Regions from separate parts of the Homo sapiens genome. Here region 2 is linked to region 1. Evidence: promoter capture Hi-C in 16 types of primary human blood cells and fetal thymus (Javierre and others, 2016). All regions are on one chromosome and are shown on one strand. Each heading gives the region's core, a stretch centred on a gene start or on the middle of the fragment in contact. The rest is flanking DNA. Distances are from core to core; before and after follow the strand shown. Region 1 holds the start of ENHO (energy homeostasis associated). Region 2 overlaps FAM219A (family with sequence similarity 219 member A).

Region 1 (5,947 bases), core at 1,311-3,810:
TCAAGCCAGAGCTGGACTCCTTTTTGCAAGCTGTCAGCTGAGCCCCTGTGTCACCTAACCCGAGTTGGGGAATGATCGTGTCAGGGAGAGGGGAGGCAGGGATCCAGAATTTACTGGGCAGGGGAGGGGTAGGGCACAGCTGGACAGGCTGGGCAGAGGAGGTGGTGCTGGGACCCAGAGAGGGGGGGCCCACCATTCCTCCCTCATGTATACTTTCCCTCTCCCCAGGAAAAGAAGGGGCAGGAGGTGCAGAAGGGTCCAGCTGTGGAGATTGCGAAACTGGACAAACTGCTGAACCTGGTGAGGGAAGTGAAAATCAAGACCTGAGGGGCTGGCCTCAGTCTCTGTCCCATCGCTTGAATACAGTACTCCTAGGGCTTGACCCTGGTACCCAGCCCAGCCTTAGCACCCAGCATGTGACCCCACTCCTGATCAGGTCCCAGCATCTTCCCTTCTTGTTCTGTTCCTTAAGGTCCCAGCACCTTACCCCAGGACTTGGTCTTCAACCACCATTACCCCTCTAACTTTGCACAAATAAACCTGTGTAGAAACCCACCCCACACCTTTAATTGTGCTACCACAGGGCCCTCAGGAAGAGAAGAAAACCTCAGGGTAGAGCCATAGTTCCATTTATTATCCAGCAAACACTGGGAGGACCAGGGGAGGGGCCCAGCCTGGACACCCTCCTATTATTGCCATGGGTTCCAGTTTGCTTCCCCAGCCTAGAGGGCCTAGAGGTGCTCAGCCTAGGGAAAGAGTGGACCCGGCCCCTGACCCTTGGCCCTTGGGATGGAGCATAGTCCAGATGGCCCTGGCTCTAGCACCAACTCATAAGCCCCCACCCCAGGCCCATCTCCTTAGGGCCACTGAGCTCCTATTGGAGCCAAGCTGGCTAGACTCTGGGCCGCTGGGTCCAGCTCCAAGCAGGCGGACTCTTGAGTTCTGGACCCCAGGCTGGCTGAACTCTGGGATCCTAATTCCAGGCTCTAGGTGAGGTGGACTTAGGTCCTGGGCTCCAGGCTAGGCCAGGGGCCTTCAGGGCTGCAGCAGGTAGCTGCCTTCATGGCTGGGCTTCTGGGGTGGTGGGGCCTTCTCAGGACAGGGGCCAGGGCTGGAGTTGGGACTGGATTCAGAGAGAGAGTCAACGTCGGCAGAGCGAGAATGGCAGGCCCAGCAGAGGATGACCCAGAGCAGCAGCAGCAAGAAGCCCACGAGACCGTTGCAGACGATGGCGATGAGGGCCCCCTGGGAGATGGCTGCCCCCATGACAGGCAGCACCCTCAGACCAGCACAGACAGTGGAGCTGCCTCAATGGTGAGGCCCATGCCGAGGCAGGACTCTGGTATGGCCGGCCTTCAGAGGAGGCTGTGCTGTCTGCACGCTCAGTGATTCCTGGGCAGTGGAGATGTCTACCTGCAGTCCTGAGCCTGTTGGGGGTATACAGTAAAGGAGAGGGTGGTGAGGAGGAAGGGTGGGGTGAGGCCTAGGAGGAGAGAGGTAGGGAAGAGAGCCTCCCTCCCACATTTCTGGCCTCCCTGGTGAAAGACCTTGGGTCCCAACAGGCTCGAATACCCCACAGAGCCATCACCCCCATCCACAGGCTTGGTTCTGGCCACCTGAATGAGTGTGTAGCCACCGTGGGGAAGCTGCAGTAGGCAGCCGTCATCTCATTCTCCTTAGACCTGGTGGGCATGCCCTGGTCCTGCCCACCAAGCTTGCAGCCCTCAAAAGCCCTCTGTTGGTGGGTGGGATCCAGGAAGCCCCCAGCCCAAAAGGATGGGGGTTGTAAGCAGCTCTGGTGTGGCCTGGGCGCCTCCTCTCTCCCAGGACTCCAGCCAGCCCGACCAGGAGACCTCCAGAGGCGCCAGCTTGCACAGAGGGAACTTTGTGGAGGCCCTGGCAGGCATGTGCAGGCTCTGTGCGTCCAGGGCTGTGTGCCTCTATGTGGGGCTGCCTCTCTGGGTCAGGTGTGTGTGTGTGTCTGGTGTCTCACTGTCCCTCCGTTGGATGTGTGCCTGTGCCTCTGCACACCCACCTCTGTGTGTGTGGCTGCCTCTCCGTGTGTCCCCATCTCTGAGTATGTCTCCTCTATGTCTCATTTCTCTACCAGTGTGTCTCTGTGTATCTCTGCATCAGTCTCTGTGTCTCTCTCTCTCTTCCAGGCTGTATCCCCCTCTGTTCCCATGGACGTGTCCCTATCCCCTTCTCCGTGGGGTCTTTTCGGTGGTTCCTGTGTCTCTGTCTTTGTGTTCGTCTCTCTCCGCGGCAGTGTGTCTCTGTCTCTTTATCTCCATCTTCGGGTCGCGTGTTCTTGGCCCCCGTGCCCGTGGCGGGAGGCCCTTCTTACCTGAGTTGAGCCTGGTGCGCGCCCGCGGGAGGGTCCGGGGCAGCGGGATGCTCGGCGCCGACTAAGGCTTGGGAGCCTGCGGGCGGGGGGCGGCGGGAGGTGGGAGACCAGCAGAGGCGACGTCCGCTCCCCCGGCCCTCCCCCTCGGCCGCGCAGCCTCCACCGGCCGCTCCCGCCGCGGCGCGACCGGGGCGGCCTCTGCCGCGGGCGGTCTGCGGTGAGCGGGCACCTCCTCCCCTTGGGGCCGCACCTCCTCCGCGGCCGCGGCGCTCGCTCGCTCGGCAGCGCTCGGGCGGCGGCGGCGGGAGCTGCGCGGTGTTCGGCTGGGCTCGGCTGCGTTCGGTTGGGCTCGGCTGGGCTCGGCTACGTTCGGCTGGGCTCGGCCGGGCTCGGCGGCCAGCAAAAACAGCGAAGAGCCTCGCCTCCTGGGAGGCCGGCGGCCTGCGGCCCGGGGGCGGAGCCATCCCAGCGCCGCTGCCGCCACTCAATTGGCTGGCCGAACCCCGGTTCCCGCACCATTGGTGGTGCGCTGAGGTGGGGACCAGCCCGCCTCTCGTGCCGGCGCGGGGCGGGAGGAGGGCCGAAGGAGTAGCTGGCCCTGGATCCTTCCCGGGAGAGGGGATGGGGTGGGGGCAAGGCCTAACCTCTGGTAGGGATTTCTTGCACCTTCTACACCTGGAAGGGTTGTACACCCCACATCCGAGAAAGGCCAAGGCCTCTGCATTTCCACATGTGAGGAAACCACCCCTCTGTATCTGGGAGAGGTCTCTTAAGTAAGTCATCCGGAGGAAGGCCCCGCGTCCCCACACCTGGCAGGAGACTGAATCTCCTCACCTAGGGAACCGCCTATAGTGCAGTCCCGCACTTCCCTCTGCCACCTGGGTGTGGACTCTGCATTCCCACTTTAGAGGGCCCCAGGTTCCCTGGCCCTAAGAGGTGTGAAAATCTCTGGCAACACAGGTTCTTTGGACACATTTACTGAGTTCCTACCCAGTGTTGGTCGCAGGCTTGCTGCCAGGCTGTTGGGGAGTCTGGGACAGAAATGGAGTGTCCTGAGCGATGGTTCTGCCCTGGCTGGAATAGGTGCAGGCGTGGTGGAAATCCTGCCTTGCCATCCTAAAAGCTCCCCTAAGAAGAAGATAGCTTGGACAGGAGCAGTGAGGTAGACCTTGTCCTCCCCGACCTTCACAGGCCAGTGATTGTCACCTATTCTGATCCGGCCGTCTTCTCATCCCGCTCTACATGCTCTCCTTGGAGGATCACATCCCTGAAGCTATATCATGAAGACTCCCAGTGCTCCCAAGTCTAGCCTTAACTTCTCTCTGGAATCCTAGACTCATATAACTAAGTGCCTACTGTAATCGGGGCAGTATTGATTCCTGGTTCACTTACTAACTTTGTGATCTTGAGCAAGTTACTAAATCTCTCTTAGCCTCAGCTTCCTCATCTGTAAAATGGTTGTAATGCTACCTCTCAGGGTTGTTATTCACTAATTTATAGCAGATCGATCACATCTCAGCAAATGCCAGCTGACACAACCCCCAGGACCATGTGACTAAGAGGCCCCTTCCCCCAATCCAATGCCATGAAATTCACATAAGACCCCTGTAAATCCAGATGCTATCTTGAAAGAAGAAAGGGAAGACTGAGTCATCCAAAGCTACCAAAGTACTTAGAGACTGTCTAAAATAAATTATTGGATCCTATAGAGTTTACCAGAGTGGATTACTTTTAGCTCCCCCCCACTGCCCATTACCCAGCAGGGTGAGGGCATTGTGAGAAAGATCAGCCTAGTTATAGGAAACAGAGGAGACTTAAATCATCGCACATCTGAGTGTAATGTGAGCGAATTTTGTGACCCAGCTGCAGGAGTTCAGATTTTATCCTGAAAACAGTGGGGAGCCACTGAAGAATTTTTGAGCAGAAGAGTAATGCGATCATATCCAGAAATTAGTAGGATGATTTGGGCTATGGTGTGGAATGGGGGCTTGAAAGCATTTGAGAGTGAAGGCAAGGATTAATAATAAGGGACTGAAATGATGGAAGGAAAAAGTTGTAGAGAGAAAAGGAGAGCATTGAGGATATTTGGGAGCTGCTGCTGGTGGGACTTAGAGAACTAGAGGATAGGGGAGGTAAGCAGGAAGGAAAAGTCTGGGATGACTCCCGGGTTAGTGACGAGGGATGCTGTGATGCCATTTACTGAATACACAGGTTCAGGAGAGAGGTCCAGGCTAAAGATAATATTTTGTGAGTTGTCAGCAAAAGAATGGTAGTTAAATGAGAAAAATAGATGAGCTCACCCAGGGAGAGAGATAACTAGTTTAAGCAAAAAGATAAATTTATAATCAGATACGGAAACCTAAGGGCAAGGATGACTCAGGAACAACTGAAACTAAGAGATCAAAAGCCACCCAGAAGAGTTCTCTCTCTACCTCTCAACTCTGTTACTTTCTGCCTGCCTCCATTTCCCTCCCCTGTCCCAAGTCCCTGTCCTCCCCATCCCCAGACTGACTTCCAATATGCTTCTAGACCACATGGTAAAAAACGGGACTTCAGACAATTCTAAAGTTTTAAAGCTTGTTGTGTAGGCATCCAAAGAGACTGGCTGCTGCCAGCTCCTCCTCATCCTCCTCATCCTCCTCCTTTCTTTTTTTTTTTTTTTTTTGGTTTGCAAAATTTTCAGGAAATATTTTGATTCAACTTAGATGCTTACCTTTGGACTAATCAATGGTGGTCAAGGGATGAAGATCAAATTGATTAACATGATAACGCTATGGGCAGTGGGGAGGTGGAGGTGGTGGTTTCCAGGGGAAGCAGCATCATAAAGAAGCAAAATGGCAGGTGTCCATACAGTCCACCCTTTGTTTGCCCAACACATATACATCATTTCCTATTATATGATTCCAAAAAGGCCCTCATCTACATAATCCAATCATCCCACGATACAAATGCCAATAAATTTGCCTCCTTTCCAGTGAAGAACAATTCAGTGACACATCCAGCTGCTGCTTCTGGAGATCATAGCACAGATCAGGACCACTGTTCTTCAGATATAGGTTCTCCAGGTAATGTCCCTTCATGCTCTAGTGAGGTCTCCATGAGGTATGAAATGTGGCTTCTAATAATCCCACTACCTTTTAACTGCCTTTGAACTATCTTTAAACTACTCCCCCTATGAAAAAGTCCTGATATGTAGAGATACAAGAAATAGAGAATAAAATGGGGTGAAAAGGAAGCACTGTGCATTGGTCACTAATCCAGAACATCATCTACTGTAGATGTTTTTGGCCATGAGTAATAATGAAATGATAGGACTAGCAAATCTCATGGCATCTGTTTGTTGACTTGCTCCTTTGGCTGTGGAGTTCCTTGGTCGGCCAATCTGGCTGCCTTAATTTTTGCCCACAAGGTAGAGATCCCTTATCCAGTGTTTTGAGAGGGTCATTATGGAGGATTTCTCTGTGCGGCACTGTACTGATTAGCACTACACCTTCTGGTGGTGTTTTACAGATTATCCTGGGATTGAACAACCACAGAGCTCTACACTTAGGAGGATTGGATAAGGGCTTTTCCCTCAATAGATTATGCAATTATTTTAAA
Region 2 (5,947 bases), core at 2,342-4,841, 100 kb before region 1:
CTTTTAAGTTTCTTGATAGATATTGCCAAAATGCTTTCCCAAAGGATTGTTCCAATTTACAATGCCTCCTGTCATGACTGAGAGTATAGCTGGTTTTTAATGCTTTATTTTTCACTGTGTGCCAGGGAATTTCAGGTCATCACATTTACCCATTATCTTCCATGAGAGCTCTGTTCCAGTCCTCATTTACCTGGTTCCCTCTGGGAAATCTTCTTTCATAGAACAGAATTTCCTCTGGGCATCACCTGCCAGACAAAATACTCCTGACTTGAGGCCACCAATTAAGAACAAAAGGAGGGAAGACTCTTACACTGAAGACTGGGAAGGGCTTTAAGTGGAGCACTGGCACTGCCTGGCAACTGGGCACTGTGCTTTAGCCAGTCCTCACCTGTGCCAGCATGTCAGCTGTAGGAACCGTGACGGTAATTGCGGAGCCAGAAAGCAAATCTCACAGAGTGTGTCCCTTGCTTTTAGATGTGGGGTGGGAGAATTAACCAAAATGGCTTTGGAGTTACCCCAGCTAGGGCAGCAGCTCCTATTACCCTACCTATTATTTAGTTTTCAGAAATAGCTACTCAGGAACAGGGAGAGAAAAGGATGGTGAAAGTATGAAGCTGGTAGTGAGATGGTAAAAAAAAAAAAAAAGGATTTGTTTTTGAAATGAAGAGACAGGGGGCCAAAGAATGTTTTAAAAGATGATTTAGAATCCTGCTCTGCTTCTTCATGGTTAGGACAAGACTGATGTCTTAGACTGATGTTCTGCTATTCATTCCTATTACCACTCACCAGAAAACCCTGTCATAAAAAATTCTTCATTTGGGAGATAGGATAAATACCTCAACTCAGGGATAATCACTGTAGCTATGGCTTGGGGGAAGCCTGTGCATAAGGGCCTAAGGGCCAAGCCTCATGACCCAGGAGGTAGACACCAGAATCATAAGTGGAGAAGGCTTACTTCCTTCTGGGAGGACTGGCTTGGCCTACTCCTGGCCCTCATCCCCTTAGCCAGATGTTGAGGATGCTCCTGCCTTACATTTGGACCAGTTTAAGACATTGGTCTTGGCCTATGTCAAGTCTTGTGACCTACAAGGTCTTTGAACCCCACATCACCCTCGCCTCCCCCATTTCAATCTCTTTAGGGAAAGATCATCTAATTTAATGGAGAAAGGAGTTAAGGTACAAAGTTCTTTAAAAATAGATCTACAATGGTTAAAATTGGCCAGATGCAGTGGCTCATGCCTGTAATCCCAGCACTTTGGGAGGCCGAGGTGGGTGGATCACTTGAGGCCAGGAGTTTGAGACCAGCCTGGACAACACAGCGAAACCCTGTCTCTACTGAAAACACACACAAAAAATTAGCCAGGTGTAGTGTTGCACACCTGTTACCCCAACTACTCAGGAGGCTGAGGTAGGAGAATCTATTGAACCTGGGAGGCAGAGGTTGCAGTGAGCCAAGATTGCACCACTGCACTCCAACTTGGGTGATAGAGCAAGACTCTGTCTCAAACAAACAAACAAACAAACAAACAAACAAAGCCCCATGATGGTTAAAATGGTAACTTTTATGTTATGCATATTCTAATACAATTTTTTTTTAAAAAAATTGAGAAGCAGGACCTAGGCAGCAAAATAAGAAGGTGTGTGGTGGGCAGTGGGGAGGAGGCAGTCCCTTCCCTTTTCATATTCAGATTCAGACAACACAGACTTTTGGGGATGAGGCCTTTCATAGGAGAGGGAAAATTATTCTAAGACCAGGGGAGTTGGACGGGGCTGGGGATTTGGGGTTGGGTTTCTGGGGGCTTTCTACTTGAGGTGCCCCTTAGACAGGGCCCAGAGGACAGGAAGATGGCAAGGTTGTTCAAGGTTAACAGCGCTTTAGGGAGCACAGTCCAGAGGATCTTTCAGTTTCCTTCTAGAATGTGGATTCCAGTTCTTCAAGATAAGGGAGGAGGCATAGACACTGAGGAGAATACTGCCCAGGAATCAGTACAAGACATGTGGTTGGAGACTCCTTGAGAGCCCCACACCTGGTAGGAAGCAGAAGCAGGAGAAATGCCAGCAGACACTGACATTTGTCTGGGCCAGATTGACGTGTGGATTCTTGTCTGAATCTTGGCCCCAAATCTCACTTAAGGCTTTTTAGTAAGCTTCAATTACTCAAGGAACTGAGCCTGGCCTGCACTGGTTCATAAATCTTTGGGGCTCCTTGATTTGCAGGAAAGCAAAGTAATTGGCAGAGTCTATGGGATTTCTTCCCTCTGGCCTTGGAAGAATAAGGACCAACTTGTCTGCAATGGACAATGGACTTGGAGGGCTAGTATCAAATAGCTTTTCCTCTCTGTGGCATTTCCTGTCGCTGCCCTTCCTCTCCTTTTTAGCTTGTTCTAAGTCTCTAACCCCCATTATGCCTGGCAGGCACTACTCTTTGCCCACAAAGATAATTTGCAGCTCTAAAGCTCAGCTCTCTAGCCAGAGCAGTCTCCTAGTCTTTCCTTTTTGTCATCCCAATAATTAAACATTGGTGAACTTGCCACTTGTTCAGAACTTTGATAATCACTGAACCCCAACAAGGGGGAGGGCACAATGTACACTGGGGAGGGAAAAACACCAAGCCCTGGTTCTTGCCAAGAAGAATTTAAAAGTGCAGAGATGACAGGCACACAGATCAGCCTATTTAAGGAAGAGAGAGGAACAGCAGAGGCAGGAATGCATGGAGGGTGGTAGGAGCACAGAGGAGAGCGATAATGGTAGCGATATTATCTTCTCTGACATACAAGATTGGGCCTGGGCAGGAGCCAGGTTAAAGTGGAGACCTGGCTATTGGTCACTGGGTACTTTGGCAGAGGGTTTAAAGCAACTACTGGTGAAGCTCTGCCCTGGGGGCTAGGACTCTACTTTTCGTTGCTGCTGATGTAGTTCCTACCCTGCCACAGGGCACTCACTTACTCCCCACCTCATTTTGGGGGGTCATTTGCAGCAGGACCTTTTCCTTTACCATTGAGATAAACAGATAACCCAAAGGAAGGGTCAAGAGGCTCTAGGTGGGTGGCTGGAAAGGGTTTTTATTAAGAAGGCAATCAGGGACTGAGAGTCCTGTCCTAAGAGTGCTTAAGAAAGAGAAAGACCAGGCGTGGTGGCTCATGAGCCTGTAATCTCAGCACTTCAGGAGGCTGAGGTGGGAGGATTGCTTGAGCCCAGGAGTTCAAGACGAGTCTGGGCAACAAAGTGAGACCCCATCTCTACAAAAAAGAAAAAAAAACTTAGCCGGGTGTGGTAGCATGTGCTTGTGGACCCAGCTACTTGGGAACCTGAGGCAGGAGGATCACTTGAGCCTGAGAAGTTGAGGCTGCAGTGAGCTGTGATCACACCACTGCACTCCAGCCTGGGTGACAGAGTGAAACTCGTGTGTGTGTGTGTGTGTATGTGTGTGTGTGTGTGTGAGAGAGAGAGAGAGAGAGAGAGAGAGAGAGAGAGAATGGCTCTGCTGAAACAAATTTTGCTGCATCCAGCCAAGCCTAGGGCCTGCAGTCACTCTCACAAGGCCTGTTCCGTGCAGCAGGGAGGTCAGGGCTGAGGGGCCCATAGAGGCCTGGGGGCCAGCCTGGGGTCAAGCAGGTCAGAGAGGGGAAGGGGAGGGTTAACCCTACTTATGAACTCCCATCTGAGTCTCCCAAGAGAAGAAAGTTCATGTGTGTGTGTTATAGGGGTGTGTGTGTGCCAGCTGGGGGTACAGAGGTAAGGAGGGGAGATTGTAGAGTAACACCAACTCAGGGTGTGTTTTTAGGGGTGAGGCTAGCCAGTTGCTGGTTATGCATCTCCATGGAAAACAATACTCAACTGCTAAGCTAGATGGTCCTAGGATACTTGCAGGAACGTCTCTGCAGGCTCAGGGCAGTAGAGAGCCTTTGCCTGCCCACCTGTCACTCCCTGGCTGGTGCAGTGACACTTACCGGCTAACTCATACTCAAGGCATCAATAGGAAGGGGTACCACCTCGTACTCCAGGCATCAATAGGAAAGGCCGCTGAAACAGCAAATGACCAACATTTCCCAAAGAGCCCCCTACAGCTCTACAACCCACATCTCTGAGGACACTTCCTCTTCTCTGAGTACACCCCCCTGCCACAGCCTCCCCCACCCCCATACAACCTCTACCTCTTCTAGACAGCTGACACACCTGCACTGTCTCAACCCTCCACCCCTGCTGAACCCATCTGTGCCCCTAGGACAGTGTTTCTTCATATATTAATGTGCATAGAAATCATCTGGGCATATTATTTAAATGCAGATTCTGATTCAGTAGGTCTGGAACCTGAATTGTCAGCATTTCATATTAGCTCCCAGGTGGTACCAATGCTGTTAATACAGCGACCACACTTGGAATAGTGTGGCTCTAGGCCAGCCTCTCTACGCCCACACCATCCCCAGACAGCCTCTCAAAGAGCCCTCCACCCTGACCTTAACCTGGTTACATTCCTAGTGGCAAGAGGGAACAATAGTCTGGGAAGAGAGGAGAGAAGAGGAGGGACTTCTCAAAGCTCACGTTGGGGAGGCAGCTCTACTAAGAACTCTGGCTGGATCCAGGCAGGGAGTTGTTCGGAACAATTTAGCCCAGGTGTAGTTCTTCCAAAACTCATCCAGTCATTTAGTTAATGTTGCTTAAATACCTGCCAGAGGTACGGCCATGGTGCTAAGTGCTTTATCTATATTATTTCATTGAATCCTCCCCAAAACCAAGTAAGGCAAATATCATTTTCATTTTAAAATTGAAGAACTAGGTTGCATAAAGTAATATGTCCAAAGTCACACCTGGTAGGCAATTTGAATCTAATTTCCTCATCTCTCTTACCCCAGCCCCTTCTCAGAGACTTAGATAAAGTCATGAGATTAACAACGTACCAGAACTTACACCTCTGTGGGACTGTTGTCTTGCAAAGCAGTCACTTGGAAGGCTGGTACCTAGTTCAATCATGTCTCTGGAGCTCAACACAAACTTGTAGCCCCTCTTTAGAAAATAGCATGGATGCTTTCTGATCACAAGCTTCCTGCTCAATTGAGTTCTCCACAGGAAGGAAATATTGGAGCCACTGAAGCAGTCGATAGCTCAAGATGGAGAGAGAGACTGGCAGGAAGCAACAAGAAAGAAAATGCGTTGGAAACTGAGAATGGTGAGCCCAGGAGACAAAAGAAGAGGGCAGTGCAAGAAAAGGAGATGAAAGGGGCCTTAGCCACCAAATTCAGTTCTGGTCCTACATTTTAAGGGCATCTATATTCTAGGCACTGTGCTGGGTTCTGGACATATAAAAATAATATGGGCTGGGCGCGGTGGCTCACACCTGTAATCCCAGCACTTTGGAAGGCCGAAGTGGAAGGATTGCTTGAGCCCAGGAGTTTGAGACCAGCCTGGGCAACATAGTAGGACTCCATTTCTACAGAAAAATTAAAGAAAATTAGCCCGGCATGGTGGCACGTGTCTGTAGTCCTAGCTACTCAGAAGGCTGAGGTGGGAGGATCACTTGAGCCTGGGAGGTTGAGGCTGTAGTGAGCCATGATTGCACAGAGCGACAGAGTGAGACCCCTTCTTCTAAATAATAATAACAATAATAAGGCCCCTGCCCATGAAGAGCTCATAAGCCAGTGAGTGAAGCAAGTGAATAAGCAGATAATTTTAATCATATGCTGAGTGCTATGACAGAGGTTTGTATGTGTACAGGACAGAGGCAACTATCCCACTCTGGGGAATTAGGGAGGACTTCTCCAAAGAAAACTGATGGAGGAAGCAAGAATAGGAAGTATTAGTGAACCAGATGAGGAAAGGAGTGGCAAACAAAAAGAAAAAAGAAGAGAAAGGACTGGTGGGAAAGATGCACATGACTATAGAGCAGGCAAAAAGAACAGGTCAATTTTACTAGAATGTTAATGTTAGGGGACGAAGTGGCAGGTGATGA

Evidence for each region. The method cuts DNA at HindIII sites, captures the fragments that hold promoters and counts their contacts. A CHiCAGO score of 5 or more calls a contact.
Region 2: a fragment that was not itself captured here is called in contact with the fragment with the promoter of ENHO in region 1 in 1 of 17 cell types (endothelial precursors); the score reaches 7.3 in endothelial precursors.

The regions. Positions count from the first base shown.
Region 1 is chr9:34,520,430-34,526,376 of GRCh38, forward strand. It overlaps ENHO (energy homeostasis associated), which reads right to left and starts at 2,561. Exons shown (of 2, transcript NM_198573.3): 1 at 2,348-2,561; 2 at 614-1,427. The coding sequence starts at 1,266. The coding sequence ends at 1,036. It overlaps DNAI1 (dynein axonemal intermediate chain 1), which reads left to right. Exons shown (of 20, transcript NM_012144.4): 20 at 229-555. The coding sequence ends at 327. RefSeq lists an enhancer at 1,305-1,857 and silencers at 2,487-2,596, 2,617-2,986. The HindIII fragment of the contact is 3,209 bases long and covers 1,713-4,921 here.
Region 2 is chr9:34,417,571-34,423,517 of GRCh38, forward strand. The region is part of intron 1 of FAM219A (family with sequence similarity 219 member A); the gene reads right to left. LOC124902145 (a long non-coding RNA gene) reads left to right here. Exons shown (of 3, transcript XR_007061465.1): 2 at 5,068-5,167. Among named protein-coding and RNA genes, the nearest start is that of SPMIP6, 23 kb to the left of the region's middle. The HindIII fragment of the contact is 2,893 bases long and covers 2,146-5,038 here.